Linked DNA regions of Homo sapiens: region 2 is linked to region 1. Evidence: promoter capture Hi-C in human tissues and cell types (Jung and others, 2019). All regions are on one chromosome and are shown on one strand. The core of a region is centred on a gene start or on the middle of the fragment in contact, and the rest is flanking DNA. Distances in the headings are between cores, read along the strand shown.

The links. The method cuts DNA at HindIII sites, captures the fragments that hold promoters and counts their contacts. A contact is called where the count stands out against the background at its distance.
Region 2: a fragment that was not itself captured here is called in contact with the fragment with the promoter of TMEM132D in region 1 in 1 of the 25 tissues and cell types used here (mesendoderm cells).

Annotation. Positions count from the first base shown.
Region 1 is chr12:129,901,824-129,906,046 of GRCh38, forward strand. TMEM132D (transmembrane protein 132D) reads right to left here and starts at 2,202. Exons shown (of 9, transcript NM_133448.3): 1 at 1,438-2,202. The coding sequence starts at 1,516. The HindIII fragment of the contact is 10,076 bases long and covers 1-4,223 here.
Region 2 is chr12:129,532,630-129,536,824 of GRCh38, forward strand. The region is part of intron 2 of TMEM132D (transmembrane protein 132D); the gene reads right to left. Among named protein-coding and RNA genes, the nearest start is that of TMEM132D-AS2, 330 kb to the left of the region's middle. The HindIII fragment of the contact is 4,730 bases long and covers 1-3,745 here.

The DNA of each region.
Region 1 (4,223 bases), core at 952-3,451:
AGAAGTCTGGACCTATTATAAAACCAAGTGAGAACCAACCCCCCCCGCCCCAAAAAAAAAATGCTGGGCTGTTGTTGCTGTGGATTTTGGTTTTTTTAACCTCACGTCTGCCTGAGTCAGGTTCACTGAATTCATCAACCTTTTCTTTGGTTTCCTGTGCACATTATAAATCCAGAAGGCTCTGATCCCAGGGATTGTTCTAACTCATAATTAGGAAACGTGAGCCCATTTCAACCACACTTCAAAGACAGGGAAGGAGGGGGAACGTAAATTCCTCTTTCTAAATCGAACCATCACAGAACTCGGCATTTCAACTGTCTTCATCTATTATCAGATCCAAAGCAACATAACCTCAGTGATTCTGGAAGAACTCAGAGAACAGACAATTCATGTAATTAAAAGACTTTGTGCGTGATAATTGGCTTTGAAGTTTCTGAGAGAGATCTCATCTCAAAAATCTTTGCAGAAAAATATGGGTACAGGGTTCTTGCAGCACGTATTAGAGACTGCTGAGACGCTTCACTCTCCTCCCAGTGTATCTATCTGCAGGAAAGGGGCACGGGTGGGGGAACCACACACAAGCAGCCCAGGTCAATCATGAGAAAGAATCTCCCGCACAAATCACACCATTTCTCTTCAAGGAAGAATGACTGTCCAGAGCTTCCAAACTTGCTCTTCCCATGACAGACAGGGATGCTGGCAGAAGAGAAGAGGAAACATTGAGGAATTCCTGCCTTGACACATGGCTTCAAGTCAGGGCTCCGCTGGGAAAATTCGGGTCACAACTTGTAGCTGAAACTCCACGTGCACCCTGCGGGGCCGCTGCTGCTCCCAGCACCCTACGGAAGGGTGAGCGCCAGACCCTGTGCCCAAACCTCACAGCGGCAGACCTGGAGAAACCCATCCCCCTTCTTCAGAGCCGCCCCCCAGGCTATATTTTTGGCAGCCTATAATACACAAAATAGTATTCCCATACAACAGGAGTGCTCCAAAATTATTTCCAAATAGGTCAGTGCCACCAGGGAAAGTCAATCCCAAATTCCAGAAATCTCCCTGGTCATCTCAATCCCCTCCTCCCCCGACAGCCGGCTCGGCCCTCCAGAGGCCACCTTTCCTCTCAAGGGTCCCCACGCCCTCTCCCTTTACAGAAAAGGCTTTCAGGAAACAGCCTTCCTTTCCTTTCGGCTCCTTAGTAGTCTCACCTAAGGCCTCCCACCCAAGTGCTCCAGGACAAGCACCTTCGGCCAAGGGGCGTCCGAGGAGCTTGGCTGCCGCACGAGCGCACGTTCACACGCGCGCACACACACATGCACACAAGCGCGCACACACACTTGCACACGAGCCCTCTCTCCCGGCCGCCCCCATCCTCCACACACTCCCACACACTCACTCCAGGCGAAGTTAGTCCCCGGGCCCTGGCGGCCGCGGCGTCCTCACCTTTGGAAAACAGGGCGGCCAGGCTGATGAGTACCGGCGACCAGTGGTGCCACAGCGTCCCCATCTCAGACGGGCACATCCTGGAGACCCGGAGCGCAGATCCTCCGCTCCCCGGCGCCGTCCAGGCGAACAAGAGACCGTCTCAGTCCCCTAGAGGCCCGCAGCGGGGCCGGTGGCGAGGGAGCGCCCGGCTAGGGGCCCGAGCAGCCCGGGCGCCCTGCTCCCTCTTCCCGCCAGTCCATGGCCAGGCCGGGAGGCGACGACCGCGCGGGCTCCTGAGTTGCTCTCCGGAGTCCAACACGCGCGCAGGCAAACCCCACCTCCCTCCTTCGACCCCAACAGAATTTTTTTTAAATTTTAATCCACAGGGGGTATTTCCTTTCCTGTTTACCCGAGCGAAGAGTGGCCCCCGGTGGCCCAAGGAGGGGCGCCTCCAGGCGCAGGGCTCCGGCGGCTCCAGCTGCTCCCGGGCTGGCTAGCGGGCGCTGGCGCAGGCGGCGCCGGGGTGGCGGGGCTGCGGAGCCCGGGACGCGGGCAGAGGCGGCTCGGAGCCCCCCGGGCGGGTGGCCGGGCTCGCTGGGCGGCCCGGGGCTCCCTGGCCCGCAGCCCCCATCCCAGGCCGGCCGCTGCGCCTCGGGGCTCGGGCGCGCGCGCGCTCCGGCACCCAAAGTTTGGCGGGTGCGGCTGCTCCCCGGCCGCCGCCTCGGCCCGCCCGGCCCCGGGCCCGGCTGGGGCTCGCGGGGCTCTACGCGCGCCGAGCGCACTGCAGGCTCCGGAGACGCGGGGCTCCCCCCTGCGCCCGGGGGAGGCGGGCCAGATGTGCGCGGAGGAGGGCCCGCCGGCTCGGGGACGCGGCCGAGCAACGCAGCTGCCTCCTGCCAGCAGGCGCGGGGGCTCCGCTCCGCAAGGACCGCATCCGGAACGGAACGGAGGCGATCGCCACGGTGCCCGGAGCCGGCTGGGGCTTTCGCCTTAAAAATTTGTCTGCTTTTAAAAAGCCCCACCCTTTCGGAGTGACAGCTGTGAGCCCCAATCCGCAAAGTAAATCCCACCTCCCCCTGGCCGCCCCACGCCCAGCCTCCCGGCCACCCTCCCTGCGAGCGCGGACGCGCGGTGGCGGCGGGCGAGGGCTCCCAGCGCGGGCGCACCCCGGGGACGGAGCCACCCACTCTCCCAACAGGTGTCCAGCTGGCCACCGGCCTCTCGTCGTCATCAAAACCTCAGGCCCAGGGGAGGTCCTCCAGCCCGGGGGCACCTGAGGCTCTTCGCCAGGGAGAGCGCAAGGATGGCTGGAGAAGGGCCCTCGCCCCGCCCTGCGCATCTCCCAGGGATCGCAGTGAGGAAGTCTCTGACACGCCACACTGAGGTCATGCTGGCCCCAAGCCCCTTCCCAGAGCGATCCCCCAAGTTAGTGTCCCTAGAAACATGTCGTGTGCTCCCCAGGGCTCACTGGGAAAGGAAATGGATCCATTAGGAGACAACATTGCTTTGAGAAGATAAAAGACATGATTCTCAACACCGCCCGGAATCTCCAACTAAGACATTCCCACACCAAGATCCCTAAGCACCGTCCTGTAATTTGTAGCCCAAGAACTGCTTTGCTCCACGAGAGCCTTTAAATTAACCCCATCAAAGCTCAGAGGGAAGAAAAGCATTCAGAATTTTTAAGGAATATTGTAAACCAACAAGCCCTGAATCTAATGAGGTGAATTCACCTCAGTAGATAAAAATGGGTCGTTATCATCTGACTGAGGGGGCAATGGACTTTTTTATCCTGTATGCCTGTAGTTGCAGAAATATACCAATGCTTTAAGAGTTTTTAGCTTTCAAAGTTTCAAGGAAGATCAAAAAAGCCACTGCTGTTCTACCGAAGATTGTTTTTCTGGGTTCATGTCCTTTGAGATGTGCTCTTGTCTTTTATTCTGTATCTACTTATCTGAATATATCTGTCTTTCTGTTTTTTCTTTTGTTTGTTTCTTAAACTTGTTGCCTTTTCTCTTTGTATTGCTCTCCTGTAAAATTCCTAAGAGTCGACGCTGCAAAGACCCTAAGAGATTGTCTCTTTCACTGTTTCTGAAGTTTGAACCAGCAGGAGAGTCACTGGAAAATTTGTTAGACCTGGGTTGCTGGGCCCACCCCAGAGCTATCTCGGCAGGTCAAGGTGGGACTTCCGATCTCCGTTCCTAAAAAGTTCCAGGTGATGCTGATGCTGCCGGCCTGCGGAACACGTGCTGGAACCACTGGTCCCCTTTCTCCTTCACCTGAGTGATGAGAGAGCTGAGCTTTCGTCTCTTGGACACCTTCACCTGGTCTCTGAGTGTCAAAATTGATGCCCGCACTGAATGCATAATCCAGGTTCCATCCTTAACGCTACAGTGGGTCTGAGTCTATTTGTAAATCATCTATTTGTGACACTGAGTCTATTTGTAAGACATTTCTCAGACATATTGACTAGAAACAAGTGGTCCCTGTTCTTTATTAAAAACAATCATTTTATGTTTCTCTAAATCAAATTGAGTTTTTCCCCTGAATTGCAATCATCAAATAACTTTTCTTTTTGCCATTGCAGAAGGTTTCTCTATCTGTAATGTGAAGACAAAAGGTGACTGTCAAGTTCCAGCTGCTGCCTAAAATGTTAAACGGTTTCTTCATTATGCGTAGTTGGCGAAACAAAAGTTTTTTCCACTCTTTGGTATGGAAGATTTTTTGGGAAGATGCAACTTCAGATACCTAATCAGTGGCTAAAATAAGATGCAAGAATGGCTTCTTACTTTTTCTCTCTCCAG
Region 2 (4,195 bases), core at 131-2,630, 370 kb before region 1:
CGTTCCCTCCCTTTTCATGGTCAGAGGGGCTCACGGTGCCTAGACTGGGCAAATGAGGTGGTTTATGCTGGACACTTTGTTGTCTTCTAGGAGCATAGAATTTTGGTACGTGCCAGGCAGAGGGTGCCCCCATGAGCAATCCCCAGTGAAAACCCTGAACTCCTGGGCTCAGGTGAGCTCCTCTGGCAGTGCTGTCCCAGCCATATGCTGGAGGAATTGGAGGAATTAAGCACATCCTGCGTGACTCCACGGGGAGAGGATTCCTGGGAGCGTGAGCCTGGTCTCCTCCCCTGTGCCTTTTCCCTCTGCGGACCATGCTTTGCTTTCCTTGGCGAATACATCGGAGCAGTGATTCTCACCACATGCTGAGTCCTGTGAGTTCTCCTAGTGACTCGCTGGACCTGGGGGTGGTCTTAGGAACCCCCAGGACACATACTGATTTGGCGAGTCCACAAAGAGAGAAAGAATTGCTTCTAGGTGTGGCCCTACTGCAAAAGTCAGCATTTTTAGAAAATGATCATCACGTATAACATTATTTCTGTGGGGAAAATGCACGTTTGATGTTTTAAATAATCATTATGCATGCAAACACTTTGAATGCAGTCGTTTAAAAACTGGGAATCGCATGCAGACGCCAAAAAGCCATCTGACCTTTCTAGATACTCAGGTGAGACACTGGGCGAATAGTTAGGATTCCTGCCTTGCAGAAACTCATTTAAATTGTAGGCAACCAAGATGTGGTAGCGAACAAAAGTACAATCCGCTGTGGACAGCTACTATTATACTAAGATGAATTCTAAAGGCTGTCCCAATTACTCTGCAGTGGAATTTTATTGAATCAACATTGCTTTAAATAAATAGGTCATCAACCTGGCTGTGACAACCTTTTCATTATACAGGAGATATCAGTACATAGGCCTTTTCTGATATATAATGGGCTTATATGTTTCTGAAATTTTATTCATAAGTAGGCTATGTGGAATTCAGATGATGTTTCTCCAATGAATCCTTTTCAAGTTCTTAAGAAAGGACACAGTGGCTTGTTCAACCCATGAAGTATTCAACATTTCTTGCTAATAATTCCACTGTAGCAAATGAAGCTATAGTCGGTAGCATTATTTCTGCAAAAATGTTTTTTCCTGGAATTTTATACAGGACACTGGGAACTGTCTTTCAGAGACACAGAACATTTTCATAATAGAACACACATTTCTAGGGCATGTTTTAGATGTTCAGAATTGAAGAAGGCATACTCAAGAGGTATCCTTGTGTGTGAATATCAAGGAAAATCTATGTAATAAACTGGATGGTCATTCTTCGGAGATGTAGACACGGTATTTACTGAACACGGTGTGTGTTGGGTTAATAATTTTGAAGCACGAATCTCAGAGCTGTCAGTGGCACCATTTGGAACCATTAAAGTAGTTCCTAGAACACATGCCCCTGGGCTCCACTGGGTCTGAGCCAAATACTAATTTCTCCCTTTGTTTATGACAACTGAGTTACTTACATTCATTAATGGAAGTTTTATAACCTACTTGTGGTTCAATAAATACAGGTTACACTGACAGCCTCATTACACAGAGATAAACATAGCACTTGATTTTGAAGATACTTTGCTGTAGATTTATGCTTAATAATATATCTACCATGGTGATGGGGGAAAGCCATAATTTTCCCCATAGTATGCACATGCACTGTGATTGGGTATCAACAAAACCTGCCTGGGGTTAAAGGTATATTGTGTTTTTAAAACATAATAGAACTGCAGGGACTGTGTATATTTTATATACATATATATATAAAAATATATAAATGCAATTTGTATATACATATATGTATACATAATGTAGAATATGTATATATCATCAACACACACACACAGAGTTTCAAGTACAGCATCCAGGGTTCAGAAATGTGGTGCGCAATTGTTGCTTTTGCTCCCCATACCCAATCTCTTTCCTGGATAGCAGTATCTTCATTTTGCTTATATGACCCACCTCTCTGCCATTCTATACCACCATGGTAGACTTGTAAGTCAAGAGTTTCTCCCTCCAACCCTGGACAAAAGGTGGACACATGACCTAAGCCAGTCCAGCTGAAAGATTCTCTCTGGAATATAATCTTGAACAAAGAGACACAGCAAATAAAAAAGGTTGGGGGAAATTCACCCAGCCTTGTGGCCCTGCTACAACTGTCTATTGCTTCCTTCTCTCTGGTTTGCAGGAATTAACACAGCTAACATTTCTGAATCTGGTTCTCAGCCTTCCCTTTAGGCATACAAATATTCCCCATCCTCCCATCCAGTCCCTTCTTGTTTAACGTAGCCTGAGTTATTTATGATCATTTCCAATTATATAACAAGGGGAGGCTAAGATTCAGTGACTTCAAGAACAAGGAAGTGTATTTCCTCCTCCTGTGAACATCCATTGCTGGTAACCCAGGTTGCTGGGTGTCTCTGTTCCACTCAGTCATTTGGGGATCAAGGCTGAAGGCATCTCTACTGTTTTTAATGTATAACTTCTAATGTCTCTGTGCTCATGACCATCCCAGCCAAGAGGAAGAGGGAAGAGCAGTAGACCAGAACAAGGGATTTCCTCTTAAGCAGGTGAGGTGGGCACTGCATGCCCAAATTCACTCACCTCCCATTGGAAGGAGCCTAGTCTCATGGCCACACCTGACTGCAAGAGCAGCGAGTGCTGGGAAGTCAGTCTTTACCTGGACAGCCGTATCCCCACTGTGACCCTGTCACTATAGTGGAAAGAGAGATGGATTTGGATGGAGGATTTGCATCTCCCTCCACCACAACCACCAGGGGACTCCAAATGATGGGATGTGTCAGCCTCCTAAAGTCTATAAATTTGAGTTCATTATCCAAAGCACTGTGTACAGAGACTTAGGCTGATGACAACATTGCCCCAAAGAGAAACTCCCTACTTACGCAATCTTGTCAGTGGAAGTGTTCTTAATATGCAACCTGAATACAGGCATATTCATGTATGAAATTCACACTGGGGCTATTGAACTAATACAAATGTGTGCTATAAAGAACACATAGAGACAGAAAGCAAAATTGATGAGATAAAAGTGGGATAAAGGGGAATTTCAGTGTTTTGTTTGTTGGGAGATTCATTTAAGATTTGTGTGCGTGTGTGTGTGTGTGTGTGTGTGTGTGTGTGTGTTGTTAGAAAAAAATGAAAGAGGAAGAGAGAGCAAAGAGAAAGGAAGGGGGACAGGGAGAGAAGTTTTGCTATATAGAGTTCAAAGCCCAAGAAGAGAAATTTGGATTGTGTGTAAGTCTCAGGCTATTTGTTTATAATGAACATAGTCCTGTTAGAAACTATTATTGGCTAATCAGCTATCCGCAGGCTAATACTGGCTTTAATCAATAACTGACTGTAGAATTCCAGGGAATTGGAGGAAGGAAGATACGAAGAGATCCAAACTTCTGGACTGCTTCTCTCACTTCTGAAATGAAAGATTTGTCTACATGTGTCTCCCCCAGAGATTCATGTGGCCACATAGTCTCTGCATAGATAAAATCCTGGTAAAATCTGATATCTCCATTTTTGAGTCCATATAGGCTCAATCTATGGAACAATACACAGTGTGCACCCACCAAAGGGTGCCACACTCCTACGCATGTAGATTTGGTGATAGCATTCCTCCCAGTTAATTGATGGAAACATGCCCTTTGGGGTCACAGCAAAGCTTTTTTGAATTGCTCTTTGTCTCCATACTTACTTTCTCTCATTAATAGTGACAGAGCATAAAATAAGCTTCATTTTTTTTATAGGTCATAGCTCTATTAACATATTGTGCAATCACTCTTGGCTTCTAATTTCCAGTTGACCAGAAAAACAAATTTATGGAAACGCTACTTTCCACTACATCAACATGTTGATATATCACATAACATTTTGCTTATATGATGAAGCACTTCCAGCCCGATCTGGACGTCTTGGCCCTGCCCTCGCCAGCAGTTACATGGATATGCCTGCTTACAATGCCACTGTCAGTATTTTAGGAATCATGTCCCACTTTTCACTTTGGGAGACACTAGGTCCCTCTTTCTATTACTGGAATATATTTGCTAAGTCTCCTTACTTTGTGACTATTCCACTATAGCCAGTTAAAGACCAACAGTGAAGCAGAAGAAAGAGCTAAGCCTAAAGTAACAATGTGAATGATATGT